Regions from separate parts of the Homo sapiens genome. Here all the other regions are linked to region 1. Evidence: promoter capture Hi-C in 16 types of primary human blood cells and fetal thymus (Javierre and others, 2016). All regions are on one chromosome and are shown on one strand. The core of a region is centred on a gene start or on the middle of the fragment in contact, and the rest is flanking DNA. Distances in the headings are between cores, read along the strand shown. Region 1 holds the start of COMMD2 (COMM domain containing 2). Region 2 overlaps WWTR1 (WW domain containing transcription regulator 1). Region 3 overlaps WWTR1 (WW domain containing transcription regulator 1). Region 4 overlaps WWTR1 (WW domain containing transcription regulator 1). Region 5 overlaps WWTR1 (WW domain containing transcription regulator 1). Region 6 overlaps TM4SF4 (transmembrane 4 L six family member 4). Region 7 overlaps RNF13 (ring finger protein 13).

Evidence for each region. The method cuts DNA at HindIII sites, captures the fragments that hold promoters and counts their contacts. A CHiCAGO score of 5 or more calls a contact.
Region 2: a contact is called between a fragment that was not itself captured here and the fragment with the promoter of COMMD2 in region 1, in 3 of 17 cell types (endothelial precursors, megakaryocytes and M2 macrophages). The highest score is 6.4, in endothelial precursors.
Region 3: a fragment that was not itself captured here is called in contact with the fragment with the promoter of COMMD2 in region 1 in 6 of 17 cell types (endothelial precursors, M2 macrophages, M1 macrophages and 3 more); the score reaches 18.7 in endothelial precursors.
Region 4: a fragment that was not itself captured here is called in contact with the fragment with the promoter of COMMD2 in region 1 in 2 of 17 cell types (endothelial precursors and M2 macrophages); the score reaches 6.9 in endothelial precursors.
Region 5: a fragment that was not itself captured here is called in contact with the fragment with the promoter of COMMD2 in region 1 in 1 of 17 cell types (endothelial precursors); the score reaches 6.1 in endothelial precursors.
Region 6: a contact is called between a fragment that was not itself captured here and the fragment with the promoter of COMMD2 in region 1, in 5 of 17 cell types (endothelial precursors, M2 macrophages, M1 macrophages and 2 more). The highest score is 17.9, in endothelial precursors.
Region 7: a contact is called between a fragment that was not itself captured here and the fragment with the promoter of COMMD2 in region 1, in 1 of 17 cell types (neutrophils). The highest score is 5.4, in neutrophils.

Annotation. Positions count from the first base shown.
Region 1 is chr3:149,751,239-149,753,938 of GRCh38, forward strand. It overlaps COMMD2 (COMM domain containing 2), which reads right to left and starts at 1,251. Exons shown (of 5, transcript NM_016094.4): 1 at 1,140-1,251; 2 at 972-1,049; 3 at 165-247. The coding sequence starts at 1,206. RefSeq lists a silencer at 1,407-1,476. The HindIII fragment of the contact is 1,089 bases long and covers 779-1,867 here.
Region 2 is chr3:149,574,835-149,577,534 of GRCh38, forward strand. The region is part of intron 2 of WWTR1 (WW domain containing transcription regulator 1); the gene reads right to left. Among named protein-coding and RNA genes, the nearest start is that of WWTR1-IT1, 76 kb to the right of the region's middle. RefSeq lists enhancers at 1-588, 589-1,215. The HindIII fragment of the contact is 2,092 bases long and covers 391-2,482 here.
Region 3 is chr3:149,520,279-149,522,978 of GRCh38, forward strand. It overlaps WWTR1 (WW domain containing transcription regulator 1), which reads right to left. Exons shown (of 7, transcript NM_015472.6): 7 at 1-711. The coding sequence ends at 527. Among named protein-coding and RNA genes, the nearest start is that of TM4SF4, 47 kb to the left of the region's middle. The HindIII fragment of the contact is 431 bases long and covers 1,121-1,551 here.
Region 4 is chr3:149,540,397-149,543,096 of GRCh38, forward strand. WWTR1 (WW domain containing transcription regulator 1) reads right to left here. Exons shown (of 7, transcript NM_015472.6): 4 at 1,939-2,141. Among named protein-coding and RNA genes, the nearest start is that of TM4SF4, 67 kb to the left of the region's middle. The HindIII fragment of the contact is 971 bases long and covers 775-1,745 here.
Region 5 is chr3:149,557,769-149,560,468 of GRCh38, forward strand. The region is part of intron 3 of WWTR1 (WW domain containing transcription regulator 1); the gene reads right to left. Among named protein-coding and RNA genes, the nearest start is that of TM4SF4, 84 kb to the left of the region's middle. The HindIII fragment of the contact is 1,692 bases long and covers 590-2,281 here.
Region 6 is chr3:149,501,369-149,504,068 of GRCh38, forward strand. It overlaps TM4SF4 (transmembrane 4 L six family member 4), which reads left to right. Exons shown (of 5, transcript NM_004617.4): 5 at 1,308-2,026. The coding sequence ends at 1,325. Among named protein-coding and RNA genes, the nearest start is that of TM4SF4, 28 kb to the left of the region's middle. RefSeq lists a silencer at 354-648. The HindIII fragment of the contact is 327 bases long and covers 1,109-1,435 here.
Region 7 is chr3:149,927,723-149,930,422 of GRCh38, forward strand. The region is part of intron 8 of RNF13 (ring finger protein 13); the gene reads left to right. Among named protein-coding and RNA genes, the nearest start is that of PFN2, 42 kb to the right of the region's middle. The HindIII fragment of the contact is 4,883 bases long and covers 1-2,700 here.

The DNA.
Region 1 (2,700 bases), core at 1-2,500:
AGATGATATGATTTTTATTTTTTAGGTATGTCTTCAAAAAATCAATTATAAACCATTAACAACATTATTAAAACACACAGGTACCTGCCAGGACTATGATGTAGAGTACACCAGACCGTTCTTAAGAATCCAGCCAACACAAAACAGTCCAGAAAATCCCTTACCATGAGCTTTGAGCTCTCAGTGAGGAGATACGTTAATCCTTCCACACCATGCTGGACAGTGTCACTACTCACATTGAGTTTTCCTGAGAAAGAAAAGTAAAAACGAGCAAATAAATTACTACTGTAGTATTTATCTTGTTCATATTTGTATTTAAAAATAAACACTATTCATTATTACATGTTTTCAAACACTGCATGAAAAACAGTAAGTTGGCCAGAGGCTCCTGCTCCTTGTCATTCCACTCCCAGCCAAATGCCTTTGGTATTTCCCACCAAGTAACCTTAACAAAATGCAGAACTGTGGAGACTAGTATCAGGTGCGTAGCCCTTCTCTTGAATACGTAGCTCCTTCAAGTCTGGCAGAAGAGGAACTCGACAGGGATTGACTTAATCCCAGAGACTGCCTCTTACCCAGGGGTAAAACAACACTTTTTTTTTTTTTTTTAGCAAAAGCGGATATCTGAACAACTAATAATGATAACCAAATACTTGCAATTTACAGTTGACCCAGCTATTCCACAGACTTTGGTATATTTATACAAAACACTTTTCAGTATTTCTGAAAGTAAGGTGGTATTATGTACATTTTACCATGAGAAAACTGATTTAATAGAAGCTTTAACAATCTCACAGCTACTTAAGGGACGGGCAGGATTTGCACCCTGACTGAAGAGCTCTGCTGGTTTTATTCTACTACAATCGGAACAAGACCCTAGGACTCGCAATAATCCGTTTCTCTCCCGGGAGACAGGGAATGGCTCGCAACCGCCCTAGAAGCCTGCGGAGCCTTCCCCTTTCCCTTCTTACTGGCGGCGCCTTCGTAGATTTTTGGGTTTGCGCCGCGTCTCAGGAATTCCACAGCAATCCGCCCAAACTCGGCGACCACTGCAATGAAAGTCAGAAGGCTGTTGAGTGCCAGGCGCTGCCTTTGACCTCCTCCCCAGCCCACAGAACACCGCCCCCACGCCCGCTGACCCGCGCTGTCCACTTGAGGCAGGAAGGCCAGGTGTTCCTTATGCTCCTCGGACAATTCCAGCAGCATCTTCACTGTCCTACGATTTCACCCGGCAGCGCCGACCCCGCCTTCGCCACTTCCGGCGCCCGTGTCCCGGCGCCTAGAGGCTCCGGCGTCGCAGCGTCCGGAGCTTTGGGTTCCGGCCTACGAACTAACGCGTTACACTCGGACGTTCCCTGCAGCGCAGGCTGAGGTCAGAACATTGAAATCATCCCGCAAAGATGCAGTGAGCGCCTGCTGGGTGCAAGGTGCTAGGCTCTATGGGAGATGAAAAGGTGTTTCAAATCCGACACGCCCCCTCGTGGAGCATACATTAATAATATCAATAGTTCACATTTGTTAAGCACTAACCGTGTCAGGAAGTGTTCTTACATTTATTAAATACATTTGGAGTTCAGAAGAACCCTATGAGGTAGGTTCCATTATAATTTCCATTAGAGATAAGGAAACTGATAGACAAGTCCAGCAACTGACACTTTTATAAAGCTAATAGTTTCCAGAGCTTCTATGTTATCTTAAATGTATCTCAGTTAATATCCTCAACAAACATGGCTTTGTTTTTACAGATAAGACACAAAGCTCCAGAGATTATGTGACAAAGCCTGTGACAGAGTTAGATGGAGAGGGTTGGATCCCTCACTTACCTGCTGCAAAGCCCATCCTTCTACATAACAGCCTGAAAGCTGAAAGCTTCTGACAAGTTTTATGAGTGATTATAAATTAGGATAAAGATAATGATGACAATGACCGATGCTTACAGGATTCAGAGCAATGTTTTTGTTTGTTTGTTTTGTTTTGTTTTGTTTTTTACATGGAGTCTCGCTCTGTCGCCCGGCTCACTGCAACCTCTGCCTCCCGGGTTCAAGCGATTCTCCTGCCTCAGCCTCCCGAGTAGCTGGTATTACAAGCGCCCACCACCATGCCTGGCTAATGTTTGTATTTTTAGTAGAGACGGGTTTTCACCATGTTGGCCAGGCTGGTCTTGAACTCCTGACCTCAAGTCATCCAGCCAACTTGGCCTCCCAAAGTGCTGGGATTACAAGCATGAACCACCACACCTGGCCCAGAGCAATGCCTTTTAAAAAGTATTTAGCGCCTGTGATAATTTAGTTCCTTTTCCAACTCTCTTCTCACCTGCTGTGGTTCAAATATCAGAGATGATAAAGTTGCTAATTGATAGGAATATGATTCTTCAAATCTTAACCCCTTGAAAATGGAGGGTGTGGAGGAAGAGAGGGGAAGGGAAGAAGACTCTTCATATCTGTCTTTTCTATCTAAGGCTTGAGACAACTCTATATTCTGAGTCTCCCAGGCAGACTAAAAATTGGAAGAGTTTTTCAATTCACTTCTCTGTGTCTACTTTGTCCTTCACATCTGACTGAAATTGTTTCTTCCACTGGGACACAGAAAGACAGGTCCTTGAACTTATTAGTTAGTTCTTGAAGTAGCATTTGCAGAGAGAACACAACTTTTACTTAGACTGTGAATTGCAGATTAGCAAAAATTGCATCATTTCCTGAA
Region 2 (2,700 bases), core at 187-2,686, 180 kb before region 1:
CTCTAATCCCAGCACTTTGGGAGGCCGAGGCGGGTGGATCACCACAGGTCAAGAGTTCGAGACCAGCCTGGCCAACATGGTGAAACCCCAGCTCTATTAAAAATATAAAAAGTAGCCGGCATGGTGATGCACGCGTGTAACCCCAGCTACTCGGGAGGCTGAGACAGGAGAATCGCTTGAACCCGGGAGGTGGAGGTTGCAGTGAGTTGGGATCATGCCACTGCACTCCAGCCTAGGCAGCAGAGTGAGACTCCATCCCCCCCAAAAAAAAAAGATGGGGAAATACTGAAGTAAAGAGATGAAAATCATTTCCCTAAGTATAAAGTAAATAATAATAAAAACAATAGTTTTAGTTTACACTTTCAGTTTCACAATTGTAGTTCTGTTTAAAGCTTTCATAAAATCCATCAACTTCTGGGCAGGTGGAAACTCATAGCCAGCCTCAGGCTTGTCACAGGCCTTCCAAGTGAGGAACTAATTGATGAGGATGTCAAAATTAAGTAACTCCCTTTAGCAAAATAATTAGACCTAAGAAATGCTTTGATTATTCCTTCAGAACTCATTCTATTAAAGCAGCATGTTTTCCAAGGCAGACATGTGCTACATAAATAGTTTTCACTCTGGTACCAGAAGGAAAAGAATCCTTCTCTCTTTCATAAACCTTTCTTAGACTCTCTGACATCATGGATATTGATGCTGTGCTAGAACCAACATCAGCACAGGCCCCGGTGAGATGTGGAAATATACATCATTTGCTGGAAGATGTTCAAGGACACTTCCGTGGTCAGAATTTCAGCTACCAGCTCTAGGAATAATACAGGAGCTGGAATGATGCATTCCTAAATGCTCGTCCCCCACTCTCCCCTCCCGTTCTGAACAAGTGGGCTGTGGCTCCTGAATGCGGCAAGAGCAGGAACATCTAGCATAGGAAGCCCAGCATCTGAAGTGGCAGATGAGCTCATCTTGCCCCAGGAGTGCCAGCACAGCTTGCCAGCCTAAATCCCCTGGGACAGAGTGTGGGGCCTTCTGGGTGGACCTCATCCTGACAGTTCTGACCGAGCTTACCCATGGCTTGAAGTCCCAGCACTCCTGCAGTGCAGTGGGAGCCTCCACGGCCCACCCTTCAAACTCCACACCCAGCCAACACATTTAAAGGAGTTTTGTTCCCAGTGGATTTGTTAATTAAAAGTGTCACTCACAGCATTCCCCAAAGGCTGGAGTACAAGAGGGAGCCTTTCTTAAGTGAGCAGTTCTCATTGCTCCAAAACAACTCTGAGAAGAAAGCCCAAATTCCTGGCTCTGCAGACCAGTCGACCTGACATCAGCTGTAAGGCTGCGCTAACATGGTGTCAAGAGTGGCTCCCAGGCTGAATGCAACAAGTAAGAGTGAGCTATTGCTCACAAGAGGCACTTAATACAGCCTTGATGATTTCATCTGAAAACTAAATTCTCCTATTGTTCTAATCACTTAGTGCCTCAGGCTCCAGCTCCCCCTACTTCCCACCACTTCCCAAACCCAGGATACGCCATTCACTCTTTCACTCTGCTGTCTCATCTCTGCTCCCTCTCTCAATGTTACTGAGTCATTTCCTTTCTCGTATTTCACAGTGTAATCTCAGTGTTTGCCAGGACCCACAATTTAGCTAGATTAATCCCCACTTCCCCGCTACTCCCACCTCCTTCCTGGCTTCACTCCCTTGCTTAGTCTACTTCAAGAAAAACTCTCTGCTGTTTTAAAAGTATAACTTCCCTTGGAAATGCACACACATATACAAATATATTTAACCTGCCTATATATGTGTATTGTATAAATACATACACTGTACAGGTTTCATATTTGAAAATGGAACAAAAAAGGAAAAAGAAACATATCAAACTATTTATGGTGATATATGCAAATAACAGGCTCACTGGTAATTTTTTTTTTCTTATCTAAACTGCTTTGTACTTTCCAGATTTTTAGCAGTGATTATGTATTGTTTTCACAACCAGTAAAAACAAAAATACTAATGAAGGTACAAAAAGACAAAAAAGAAAATTGATGCATGAATACACAGGTCATAAGGTATAAGCAGCACTTTGGGAGGCCGAGGTGGGCAGATCACCTGAGGTTGGGAGTTCGAGACCAGCCTGACCAACATGGAGAAGCCCTGTCTCTACTAAAAATACAAAATTAGCCGGCTGTGGTGGCACATGCCTGTAATCCCAGCTACTCAGGAGGCTGAGGCAGGAGAATTGCTTGAACCCAGGAGGCGGAGATTGTGGTGAGCCGAGATCGCACCATTGCACTCCAGCCTGGGCAACAAGAGAGAAACTCAGTCTCAAAGAACAAACAAACAAACAAACAAAAAGAGTTCCTGAAGATAAACTACACTTTTGGCTCCTATCTTCGTGTGGCTCAAATCAGGGGACAAATGGAATCAATCACCTGATCCCATGCTGTTTATAAAGAAAAAGAATAGCAGTTCCTACGGGGAAGAAAAGCTTTTCTTGACAGTAAACATTTTTTTCCTCGACTTAAAAAAAAGAAAAATCCTCTACAAGTGCTTCCCATGGAGAGCCCTGGTGGTATGTGGGGTTAACGGTACCTGTAACAAATATAAGCGGGAGTGGGCTTTTTCCCCTTCCTTCAAGAGCCCCTTGGACCACTACTTCCCAGACAGCCTCCTTCTCTCAGTCCCAGAAAGACCAACCAATTCC
Region 3 (2,700 bases), core at 86-2,585, 230 kb before region 1:
AATTTTACTATCCATACAATGATTTTTAAAGCTCAAGTTAAATAGTTTTTAAAGCATTTGGTACTACTGTCATCAATACAGTTTTTGAAACTGTAAATCAGGTCGAATTTTGTGCACATTTCCTGGACCAAGATGCCCTCAGAAGTAACTGCCTGTGGTCAGCTTTTTATGGTTTAAAATCAATTGGTGTATAAATTTCAATTAACACCCATAAAGCTTAGCCATGGGGCAGCAGAGAAGAAAGAGAAAAGTATTCTGCATAATCAATCCTGCAGACACAATTCTGTATAATCTGTCACAAGAACGCAGGCTTGCAGAAAATGAAAATAGAATATTTATTTATGTTTAACTTAAGTTACTCTCAATCAAAACCAGGCAATGATTAAACTGGCAACATAAAAAGGAGGGAGCACGAGTCATGGAGGCGGGAAGTGGTGCACCTGCAGACTTGCTCTGCTCCATCACTTTTTCCAAGAGGCCCAGGAAATGTAAGGTCATGGCTACATCCAAGTTACAATGGTAGTGATTACAGCCAGGTTAGAAAGGGCTCACTTTTGTTCAGAGCAGACTCTACATCATTGAAGAGGGGGATCAGGTCTTCAGATTCCAAAGTTCCTAAGTCAACGTTTGTTCCTGGAAGACAGTCAAGGAAATCAGGGAAACGGGTCTGTTGGGGATTGATGTTCATGGGTGTTTGTCCTGCGTTTTCTCCTATAACAAAATGAAAAGAAACCATTTTAATTCCTTCTTTTAGGCTCTTGAAGGAGGAACAGTTCAAGTATTTACATAACCCTCACCTTCATGTCTTCAACTACCACATTATTGACCCTTACTCATAAGAGGTACAGAGATGTGGAAGAAATCGAAAATTATTTCTGGATAGGTGTGGTCCAGAATGGAAAAGGCCAAGGAGATAAGAAAGGAGCATGTGAAAGGCACTGTGGATCTGATCTATGATCTGTGCCTTCCCATGACAAAGGTGTGAAGAACTGTTTTACAAAAGAGTAGAGAGGCCTTGTCTGTAATAAACAGCTTATTACAGAACTATAATCTACAGGTTTCATTGTAAGCTTAGGTTTACCCATACCATCCTTCTTTATGTTCAAAGAGAATGGTGTGAAGCTTCTTTTAACCAGGCTATTAAAAAGTTGTCTTCATTGATGACTTTAGGCATCATTTATAAAGGCAGTTCTGCAGACGTTTTCCCTCTTTCTGTAATACCTACACCCTACAACTATCTGCCTTTCTCACAAGCATATGAGCACAGTGCATATGAGCATGTTAAGGCTTTAAGTCTTAGAGTAAAGAAATCTTTTGTTTTCTTTAAGACACTATTTCCTAAACCCATTTAATCACCTAAACCTATTTTGGCAGTATGTGTATTCAAATAAAACTGAAGTTCTACAGAACACAGGTGAGAAAATGCTGTACTAGAGGAAAAGTAGGTGTCTGGGATATGACATGAAGAATATAGGTTCTTTATGTGTCATAGTATGGGACAGAATGCACTACTGACTTTGGTGTCATTAGATCGAGCTTTGTGGCTGTGTAAGCTTAGACACACTTAACCTGCCTGATTCTCAGTTTACCCATCTAGAAATTGGGATCATATGCTCCTTTTACAAAAGTTAGAGTAAAGTGCCATATAGTGTCTGCCACATATCCATGGCTCTGGGTGTCATTGATATATACAAAGTTATATACATACAAAAATATAATAAATGTTCATTGTCCTGAGAGAAAGAAAAACCCAGGTCTTCAGCCACTATTAATTACACAATATCAAAACAACAGGTTAATTCAAAAAGTCCCAAACAATTTTCTGAAGAGATAATATCTACTTCAAAAATTGAGAAGCATTGATAACTAAGGCCAGCTTCCACCATAACGTCATTTTTTAAAAACTTGTTAAATTATCTTTTGTGTGTTACAAGTGCAGTAGCCTTCCTGAAACGTGTGTAGGGAAGTTTCACTATTTTAAGCAAAATTGCCGAAAGTTCACTTTAGCAATCTGTGTTTTCCAGGGAGAAAAATTATATCCTTCCAAATGATGAAGGAACCATCATCCAATTTGGATTTTGGTGATAGCAAAACACAATGGCTTTTCTAGAAGTCACAAAATATAAATGACTCCTGGGTAACATTTTACAGTATTTTCATTGCAAAGGGTAGTAAACTGAAAAATTAAATCAAATTCAACAATATGACCTCAATATAGTGTTACTGATATTGAAAAATAACGTTAAACGAAAAAACAAAATCCAAAATAACTTTCTTCTACTTACTAGAGTGTAACAGATAAAAATGAGGCTTTAAAAAGTGTCTAAAAAACAATCTGATCTAATGTGCTGGATGCCTTTTTTTCTCTTCATCTCCAGTTAGAATCATTCATTTTTACTAATTTCCCATTTTAACTTTCAGATACTCAAGAATATAATTTTTAGCCAAGCAAAATCTCTGTTTTAAAGAATTCCTAGGCCGGGTGTGGTGGCTCATGCCTGTAATCCCAGCACTTTGGGAGGCCGAGGTGGGTGGATCACCTGAGGTCAGGAGTTCAAGAACAGCCTTGCCAACATGGTGAAACCCTGTCTCTACTAAAAATACAACAAACAAACAAACAAAAAAACCCCAAAAAAACAGTGCCAGGCATGGTGGCGCACCCCTGTAATCCCAGCTACTCAGGAGGCTGAGGCCCGAGAC
Region 4 (2,700 bases), core at 10-2,509, 210 kb before region 1:
GGAAAGAAGGAGGAGAAGCAAGAGAAAGAGAAACACACCCGCAAAAACAGAGAAGCAAGTCATTCTTTGCAGAATGGTCACAACTTTGTGTAAAGAAAAAACTCACTAAAGCTCATTTAAGTATAAAACTGAGAATGTATAAAATGCTGTTGGGATACTGTTTAATTTACCTTACATTATAAAACAGAAAAATTATTCCAAATAAAATTATTATTCAAAGACAGAAAACAATTAACAATACAATTACTTCCCATCAAGAAACATGACACTATATATCTAAAATCAGTATAAACAACCGTTAGCCTGAAATAACCGTGAAAGTTCAAACATAAATCCTCAGGGTAAAAGACACAACTGTAGTTACCTAATTATTAAGTTGTATTCCTCAAATTTGGAGGAAAGTTCAGCTGAGCAACAAAGCACAATTTATATTCATTTTCCTTATTTTCAAAGACTATATCTGAGAAATGATTTTAATTTACCATGCATTTTAAACCTCACACAATATAGATTTCTTATATCCTGGAATGTATTTGATGAGAAATACATTATTCATTCATGGAAGTCAATGTGTATTTTTGAAAGTATCAAATGTAGCTTTAAAAAAACAGCATTTACCCTAACATGCTCGGTCCTTTCCTCCAAGAAAGTTCTCTGGAATGTTAAAACTACTTATTTCTCTAATTTCTCTAAAGTAGCAAAAGGAAGTTATTCATGTATCTTGCTTCATGTGAGTCACAAAACAAAGTCTGAAAAGTTAAAACAATAAACTGAAGCTTTTCTCCCCAAAAATGTAGCCAGAAAAAAAGCATGAGACCTGAAAACATGGGTTATATTAGTTTAGCAACACAGAAGAAAGAATTCTGCTCTTCCATAGACCAAGCCACTGAAACAGGGAGAGCACTGTGGGTTCTTTTAGGAATTCTCTTGTATTCGTTTTTGAAGTACAGCACTGAGCCTGACCCACAGAGGGCACACGGCAACACACTCCTGACTGACGGAATGAAAACTGAATGAATGGAGTATGGTACAAAAGTGCCTGATTGATGCCCAGGCAGTTTTGCAGAGCACTCTGTTGGAGTCCATATACAAACCACTTTCCCTTCTCATTCTCCCTTCAGCTTCCCTCTTTTTCATGCTCTGTGGTGGACCAAGATCCTTTGTCATTTCTTCTGAGGAACATCCACTCCACTATCTGCTTGAATCTCGGGGGGTTCTCTGTGACTACTTTGACCAAGAGAGTGTGGCAAAAGCGACTCCACGACCGTTTCCAGAGCTAGGCCCCAAGAAATTGGCAACTTCTACTTCCTGTCTCTTAGAATGCTTTTTCTTGAAAACCCAGCTGCTATGGAATGAGTACCACTACTCTGAGATCGCCACACCATAGATCCCAGGCTTTTGTTCCAGCTTAGCCCAGTCTTCCAGCAATCCTCACCATCATGCCACCCACTTAGGTAAAGCCATTGTGAACTATCCAGACCAACCCACCTACCAGTTGAATACCACTAAATGACCTCAGTCAATGCCATGTAGAGCAGAAGAATATCCCAGGTGAGCCCCTTCTAAATTCTGACCCACAAAATTGTGCGATATAATGAAATGGCTATTTAAGCAACTACATTTTGGGATAATTTGTTACACAACAACAGACTCTTGTCTCTCTACTTTCTCCTTTCTCTCCTTCTAAAGACTAGCAGTGGAAGCCAAAGGCAGCCATGCTAATACAGCTCGTCCTTGTACCCTTAAGCTTCGTTCTGAAAAGGCAGGCAGAACACTGAGAGAAGAAACTGGATTTTAATCAAGAGGCTTGGAGTAGGGCTTTGAGCCCTATTGTCTCTTCTTCTCTAGAAGAATTACCCTGAAGGTAAGCAGCTACCTACCCATCAGCTTTGGCACCAAGGCCAGGGAGCCTCCACCAGACACCATGGAAAGCCATACCTGCCTCATGAGCTCCTCTTGGCGCATTCGAATCCTTTCTCTCTCCATCTGGATTCTCTGAAGCCGCAGTTTCTGCTGCTGCTGCTGCTGAGTGGTCAGCGCATTGGGCATACTCATGAGCCCTGCGGGTGGGTTCTGAGTGGGGTGGTTCTGCTGGCTCAGGGTACTGGGGGCCATCTGCTGCTGGTGTTGGTGATTCATCACTGCAAGAGGGAAGAACATACAGATTAATGACCAGGGCCCACAATACCTTATCAAAAATAGACCATCAGAATGTTTTCTGCTTTGGAGTATAGATTCCTGAGATTCCTTCCAAAGTACTTTCCTGTTAACCATTACTGTTTAAGTAATTATTACCTTAATTCAATTCACGGAGGCTCGAATACTGGCCCCAATCCTGACTCATCTAGCCTCGGCTTTTGTTTCTGTTAAAATCTCATTTCACACCTCCCTGTCTAGAGTACATTTTAAGCCTTACATAGAACATAGTGGTCTAAAGCAAATTCCACAAAGGTTATCACAAGTTATGAGATAATTTCACCAGATCATTTGTGTGTGTGTGTGTGTGTGCATGTGTATACTTTCTCAGTTAATTTGTGTGTTTATGGCAGAGGTAAGGAGGGCATGTGATCTTTGGTACACAAACCAGTGAATTGACAAACAACATGTAACACAAAGCACCTAGATCAGGAGCCGACATATAAGGAGGACTCCATTAATCCTTTGTTTGAAAAGCATGCTGCAAGGAAGCCTGAGCTATGA
Region 5 (2,700 bases), core at 186-2,685, 190 kb before region 1:
GAGGCGGGAGGATCACCTGAGGTCAGGAGTTCAAGACCAGCCTGGCCAACATGGTGAAACCCCATCTCTACTAAAAATACAAAAATTAGACAAGCGTGGCGGTGTGTGCCTGTAGTCTCTGCTACTGGGGAGGCTGAGGCACGAGAATCACTTGGACCAGGGAGGTGGATGTTGCAGTGAGCGGAGATCACGCCATTGCACTCCAACCTGGGTGACAGAGCAAGGCTCCATCTCAAAAAAAAAAAAAAAAAAGAATTATATGTTTTTTAAGATGCAAGAGTAGGGAACAAATGAATGGAAGCATCATAATTTCATTTTAAAACTACTCGTGTGTCAGTCACAGATTGCCCTCAATGAGAAACTTGTAAACCTGTGAATGGGCCCCAAGCAGTACACCTGCCAGTCTAGGACTCAGAATGAAGTGAAGGAGAAATGGGTTTTTTGTGGTCTTGAGTCACACTGAGACAGTCAACTGCTTGTGACTCTAATAAACATAGCCTACCTTTTGTAAATAAATTAAAAAAAAAACCTACCTGTGTGTATATAGCTGCACAGATATATTATGTGTCAAATAAATAATGTTCTGTGAAGCTTAACTGAGCAGGTTGGAAATTTTACTTGTTAGTCATCCCGAGGGGAAGAGTTTACATGATTTTAGGCCATACCTTATAGAGACCTGGTAGACCAAAAAGCCTTTCCACATATTTCATTAGCTTTACAGAACATATTCATTAGAGGAGCCATTTGGCACAAGCATGCTCTGCTGCCCCCACCCCACCTTCCATAGACACTACCTTCATCAAGTGATCAAAGCTAATGTCACCTATAGTGGAACAAATCGTGTGCCTCCTGATAGGATTCAATGAGAAGAACACAACATCACTTCCATGGTATTCCTGCCAAAAATTTATAACCTAAACCAAAATCACGAAGAAATGCCGGACAAATCCAAATTTAAAAATGATTCACAAAATAACTGGCCTATATATTCCTCAAAAATGTCAAGGTCCAGAACACAAGGACCGAAGACTTGTTCCAAATTAGAAGAGATTATGGAAACAGGACAACTAAATGCAATGTGAGATCCTCAATCACATCCTGGGCCAGAAACAAAAATAGCCACAAAGGACATCACCGGGACAACTGAAGACATTTCGAATCTGGGCTATTAGATAAGAGTATTGTATCAATGTTAAATTTCCTGATTTTGATACCTACACTGTGCTTATATAAGAAAATGTCCAGCTGGGCACGGTGGCTCACGCCTGTATTCCCAGCACTTTGGGAGGCCAAGGCAGGCAGATCACCTGAGGTTAGGAGTTCCAGACCAGCCTGGCCAACATGGGGAAACCCCATCTCTACTAAAAATACAAAAATTTGCCAGGCGTAGTGGCACACACCTGTAGTCCCAGCTACTTGGGAGGCTGCAGCAGGGGAATTGCTTGAACCCAGGAGATGGAGGTTTCAATGAGACGAGATCATGCCACTGCACTCCAGCCTGGGCAACAGAGCAAGACTCCATCTCAAAAAAAAAAAAAAAAAAAAGAAAAGAAAAGAAAAAAGAAAAAAAGAAAAAGTCTTTTGAGAAAATATAAGTATTTCTGGGTAAAGGAGAATGATGTCTCCAACTTTGTCTCAAATGGTTCAGAAAAAAAAATATGTAGATAGATAGATAGATGGATAGATGGATAGATGCAACCGTGGCTATGTTTATAAGCAAACAATTAACAAAGGCAGATCTGGGGAAAAGGTATATGGGAATTCCTTAGACTAAACTTGAAACTCTTCTGTAAGTTTACAATTCTTTCAAAATAAATAGTGACATTTAAAAAAATAAAACCTCTCTACACATACCTCAAACCTCCTGGAGACAGAATTCTCAGTCCGGCAGGGACCAGAGAAACTGTGTTATGTATGGGCCATTGTTCTGTGGCACTGTTGAACTTTGAGGAAACTCCTATTAAACAATGCTTTTGATAACTGATTGGAATTTGGATGGAACAGAATCCCAGCTGCAATCTGTGCTACATAATTCTGATACCTCATACTCATAGTTCCTTCCAGCCTCCCACCTCTATCCCCAACCCCAACTGTTAAATGATTCTAATTTTAAAACATAGACAGCCTAGGAAGACAGGACAAAGAGCTACCCCAACAGACCGGTTGGAGGTCTTTCAGAAGAAACGCCACTGGATAGCTGCCCCTGAGGACCAGACACCCAGAATAGGAAATTGCAGGTTTTCTTGGGAAGGACCTGGGACACCAAGAGAGTTGACTGTCAAGCTTGAGATCTGTTGTGAAAGGTCCTTACATCCCAGGGTCAGAGCTGAGACATTGCTCCATTTAGGTCTTCTTGATAGGAGGAAAAATGAGCAAGCTAAGAGTGGAGGATGGAGAAGGCACCAGTGAATGCAAACATATGAAATAGGGAATGCCTCAGGCGAAAGCCATCTGATTTTAATATATCGTAGTTTCGACACTGAGATTCCCTCAAATTGCAGGAAAAATATAATGTGTACTTAAAACTAGAGGAGACACAGAGGAGAGGAGAAAGCACAAGCAAAGAAGACATGCTGAGGATCCCAGAAGAGAAGTCTCCCAAGGGGCAGCCCTAGGCTGCAGTGACCCAGGCAGAAATGATATAGGGAAGGTGTCCAGAAACCTCCAGCATGGAGCCGCCCTGAGCATTTGTTTTGTTAG
Region 6 (2,700 bases), core at 22-2,521, 250 kb before region 1:
CCCCACTCCTCCTCCAACTTTCTATTTTGAAAACTTCAAATCTACATAAAGTTGAAGGAATGGTGCAATGAACACCTGTATACTTTCACCCATGTTCACAAAATTCTTAATATTTTCTCACCCTCTCTGTTTCTGGACTCTTGGAAAGTAATTTTTGGACATCACAAAGTTTCACTACTAAATATTTCAGTGCACAAGAGCTGCAGTTTTAAAGTCAGTCTGCTGAAGATTCCTTTCTCTTGGGCAGCTGGCCTCTCATGGGGCTGGTCAGCATTCCTGCCCCAGTAGGACACTGAGGAAAGACTTGGGCTCTCAGCCTAGTTCCACAGCTTACTAGCTGAGTGACTCCAGCAAGCTGACTAACTTCTCATAGTCTCAGTTATTCCAACTGCCTCTTGCCTAACTTATGGAGAGAGTGTAAGATCAACATCTATCCATTCAGGCGGAAAGTATTTACTGAGAGCTTCCTGAGCCTGGCACAGTCCTTAAATGAAGTGGTAGTTGGGAATGTGCCTTAAAATACATGCTATGAGACCTGGTTTGAATGTCAGCTGTGTGGTCTTGGCCCAGTCAGTAGCCCTCAACTGCTCCTTGTCTGTAAAATGTGGCTATTAATACCTACTCCTACGGTTGTCAATGGAGTGCCTAGTACAGGGTGACAAGCATGAATTCATTTGAATCCTTAGAAGGCTCAGTAAATGGCATTGAATGTTATTTACTAACCTTATGAAAGTCAGTGAGGTAGCATAGCTTCAAGTTTCCTTTAACACAATCTCTGGGTTCTGCCTCCCTGGTTCAAATCCCAGCTCTCCTACTTGTTAGTGGTGGCTTTCCACATAGCACTTGGTCTCTCAGCACCTCTTACCAAATTATTTTTTTAAATAAATGATGCATATTGTATACAATGTATTCTCCTCAGGTGATGGGTGCACTGCAGTTTCAGAATTCATCAGTACCTAATTCATCATCCACAGAACCAACAACCACTTGTACCCCAAAAGCTATTGAAATTTAAAAAAATTAAAAACAAAATAAAACAAAAATAAATAAATAAAATGTAACTTCCTTGAGGACTAAATAAATAAATACATGATGCAAAACAAAATGAAGCTTCCATTCCTATAACCTCAACACAGGTGGGTGCCAGAGTAAAGCCCTGAAACAAAGCCAGAAAAGTATAGGAAACATTCAATAGGCAACCATTAAGAGCCAGGAGGAAGGCAGGTGATGGGGATGGGAAGGAGGGGAAAAGCAAAAATTTACATAAATCATGACATCATAGTTAATTCACCTTTTCTACCTTCTAGGGAGATGGACCCGTTTAAACCTCCGAGATGAGCTGCTCAGACTCTACAGCATGACGACTACAATTTCTTTTCATAAAACTTCTTCTCTTCTTGGAATTATTAATTCCTATCTGCTTCCTAGCTGATAAAGCTTAGAAAAGGCAGTTATTCCTTCTTTCCAACCAGCTTTGCTCGAGTTAGAATTTTGTTATTTTCAAATAAAAAATAGTTTGGCCACTTAACAAATTTGATTTATAAATCTTTCAAATTAGTTCCTTTTTAGAATTTACCAACAGGTTCAAAGCATACTTTTCATGATTTTTTTATTACAAATGTAAAATGTATAAAGTCACATGTACTGCCATACTACTTCTTTGTATATAAAGATGTTTATATCTTTGGAAGTTTTACATAAATCAAAGGAAGAAAGCACATTTAAAATGAGAAACTAAGACCAATTTCTGTTTTTAAGAGGAAAAAGAATGATTGATGTATCCTAAGTATTGTTATTTGTTGTCTTTTTTTGCTGCCTTGCTTGAGTTGCTTGTGACTGATCTTTTGAGGCTGTCATCATGGCTAGGGTTCTTTTATGTATGTTAAATTAAAACCTGAATTCAGAGGTAACGTAACAAAGATTGTGTGTGTTTTAGGAGGGGGGACAAAACGTTGAATGAATAACAACTCATCTTTTCTACAAATGCTTCCTTTGATCAAACAAAAAAAAGTTTTTAAAAAATTGATTTAAGTAATAATTTTGTCAGCCTATTGCCCAGGGTTAAGGTAATAAGTATTAGTATTCTATGTGTCTTATTAAGACTAACTGGCTTTATGAGTCAGGCACTAACAGGGCATCAGATCCATTCTGTTGATTTGTGTTCAAACCCCAACTTCACCACAAACCAGCTTAGGGGTCCCGGGACAGTTATTTTCAAAGTCTCAGTTTCCCCATCTGTAAAAGGACACCTGAGAGACAACCAGTCATACTGGAAATTTTGAAGTTGCCAAGGGTGAAGCAAAGGCCTGTGTGCTGCCAACGTGACTGTGTGCAATAAGAAGGGTCTCAGGGAAGTCCAAGCCAGAAAGTCTCCCTTCTGCCCTTGCCAAGCTAATAGGCTGCACCACGTAGGTCAGGCACACTGAAAACTGGGTTTGTCAAAGCCATCAATAAAGTAATTAATGATCACCTACTGTGTGCTGGCCCCCGCGGGGCTAGGCACTGAAGATACAAAGAGTTACACGCTGTAGTTTTGCCCTCACTACAATGAGAACTCTATGAGATCAGGGATTGTGTCTGACATCTGAAACTTAATAGGCAGAGGCAAGAAAGGCAGATACACTGAAGATCTCGTTGCGGGAACTATACACACACACACACACACACACTCACACACACACACACGGTGTTTCGATTCAG
Region 7 (2,700 bases), core at 49-2,548, 180 kb after region 1:
AGCATCTTTTCTTGTGCTTATTGTCCACTTGGATATTTCCTTTGGCAAATTATCTGTTCAAGTACTTTTCTTATTTTCAATTGGGTGGTTTATCATTTTGTTCTTGAGTTATAGGAGTTCTTTGTATATTCTAGATAACATGATTTGCAAATATTTTTTCCCATTCTGTCAGTTGTCACTTTCTTGATAATGTCCTTTTATGTACAGAAGTTTCAAATTTTGATGTAGTCCAATTTACCTTTTTTCTTTTTTTGCTTATGATATGAAGCATAAGCAAAAACCTTTTTTTTTTTTTTTTTTTGCTTGTGAAGGAAATTAAAGAAGACCTCAATAAATGGAAAAGCATCCCACATTCATGGATTGAAAGACTTAATATTGTTAAGATATCAAGACTACCCAAAGCAGTCTACAAATTCAGCACAATTCCTATCAAAATTCCAAGAACTTTTTTTGCAGAAATGAAAAATTTAAAAATTTTGATTAAGTCCAGTTTTTACCTTATGTCATATCTAAGAATACACTGTCAAATCTAAGGTCATAAAGATTTACCCTATGTTTTCTTCAAAGTTTTATGGTTTTAGCTTATATTTAGGTCTTTTATCAATTTAGAGTTGATTTTCATATATAGTAAATATGAGGTAGGGCTCCCGGCTTATTTTTTTGTATGTGGAAATCCAGTTATCTCAGCACCATTTGTTGAAGAGACTGTTTTCTCATTGAATATCTTGGCACTCTCATCAAAAATAAGTTGGCCATAGATGTATGGTTTTATTTATGGACTCTCAGGTACATTCCTTTGGTCTATATGATTATCCTTATGCCAGTCCCACACTATTTTGATTACTCTAGTTTTGTAGTAAATTTTGAAACTGAGAATTGTGAGTCTTCCACATTTGTTGTTGTTCTTCAGTATTTTAGCTATTCAGGGTCCTTTGCAATTCCATAATAACTTGAGAATAATTTGAGGATAGAACTTTATATTTTTGCAAAAAAAGTTATAGAATTTTGATAGGGATTGTGCTAAATTTGTAGGTTGCTTTGGGTAGTCTTGACATCTTAACAATATTAAGTCTTCCAATCCATGAATATGGGATGCTTTTCCATTTATTGAGGTCTTCTTTAATTTCCTTCAGCAATGCCATGTAATTTTCAGTCTATAAGTCTTTCATCTCCTTAGATTTATTTCTAGGCATTTTATTGTTTTAGATACTATTATAAATAGAATTCCTTTCTAAATTTCTTTTATGGATTGTTCATTGCTGGTGTGGAGAAACACAACTGATTTTTATGCATTGATCTTATAACCTACAACTTTGATGGATTTGTATATAGCTCTGGTAGCTTTCTTGTGGATTCTTGGGGATTTCCTATATAGCAGATTGTATTAGCCTGTTCTCACACTACTATAAGAAATACCCAAGACTGGGTAATTTATAAAGGAAAGGTTTTAATTGACTCACAGTTCCACATTGCTGGAGAAGCCTCAGGAAACTTCTAATCATGGTGGAAGGCAAAGGAGAAGCAGACATCTTCATAGGGCATCAGGACAGAGTGAGTGCAAGCAGGGGAGATGCCAGATGCTTATAAAACCATCAGATCTCGTGAGACTCACTATCATGACAATAGCGTGGGGGAAACTGCCCCCATGATCCAATTACCTCCACCTGGTCCTGCCCCTGACACGTGGGGATTATGTGTATTATAATTCAAGATGAGATTTTGGGTGGAGACACAGCCAAACCATATCACAGATCATGTCATCTGTGAATAGGTGTAGTTTTACTTCTTTCTTTCCAACATGGATTTATTTCATTTTCTTGTGTAATTGCTTATAGAACTTACAGTACAATATTGAATAATAGTGGTGAAAGTGGCCATTCTACTTTCTTTCTGATTTTAAGGCAAAAATTTGCAGTACTTCACCAGTGAGTATTTTAGTTGTGAGTTGTTGTTGTTGTTTTTAATAAATGCCCTTTATCAAGTTGATGAAGTCCCCTACTATATAGGTTCATTTTTTTGGCATGTTGAAATCTACTTGTTCCAGCATTATTTGTTGAAAAGACTGTCCTTTCTCCCTTGAATCACCTTTGCTCCACTGTTAGAGAGCAGTTGACTATATTTGTGTGAGTCTTTTTCTGGAATCTCTATTCTGTCCCATTTATCTATTCTTTCACCAGTACCACACCGCCTTGATTACTGTACTTTTGTTTTGTTTTGTCTTGAAATGGAGTCTTGCTCTGTTGCCCAGGCTGGAGTGCAGTGGTGCAATCTCGGCTCACTGCAACCTCCGCCTCCCAGGTTCAAGCAATTCTTCTGCCTCAGCCTCCCATGTAGCTGGGAGCACAGGCATGTGCCACCATGCCTGTCTAATTTTTTTTGTATTTTTAGTAGAGACAGGGTTTCACTATGTTGGCTAGGCTGGTCTTGAACTCCTGACCTCAAGTGATCTGCCTGCCTCGGCCTCCCAAAGTGCTGGGATTACAGGCGTGAGCCACTGCACCAGCTGATTACTTTATAGTAAGTCTTAACATTGGGTAGTGTCAGTTCATTGACTTTGTTACTTCAGTATGGTGTTGGCTGTTTTGGTGTTTTGCCATTCCGTATATACTTGTGAACTAGTTTGTTGGTATCCAAAAAAAGAAATTGCTGAGATTTTGATTGGGATTGCATTGAATTTATAAATCAAGTTGGGCATCCCAC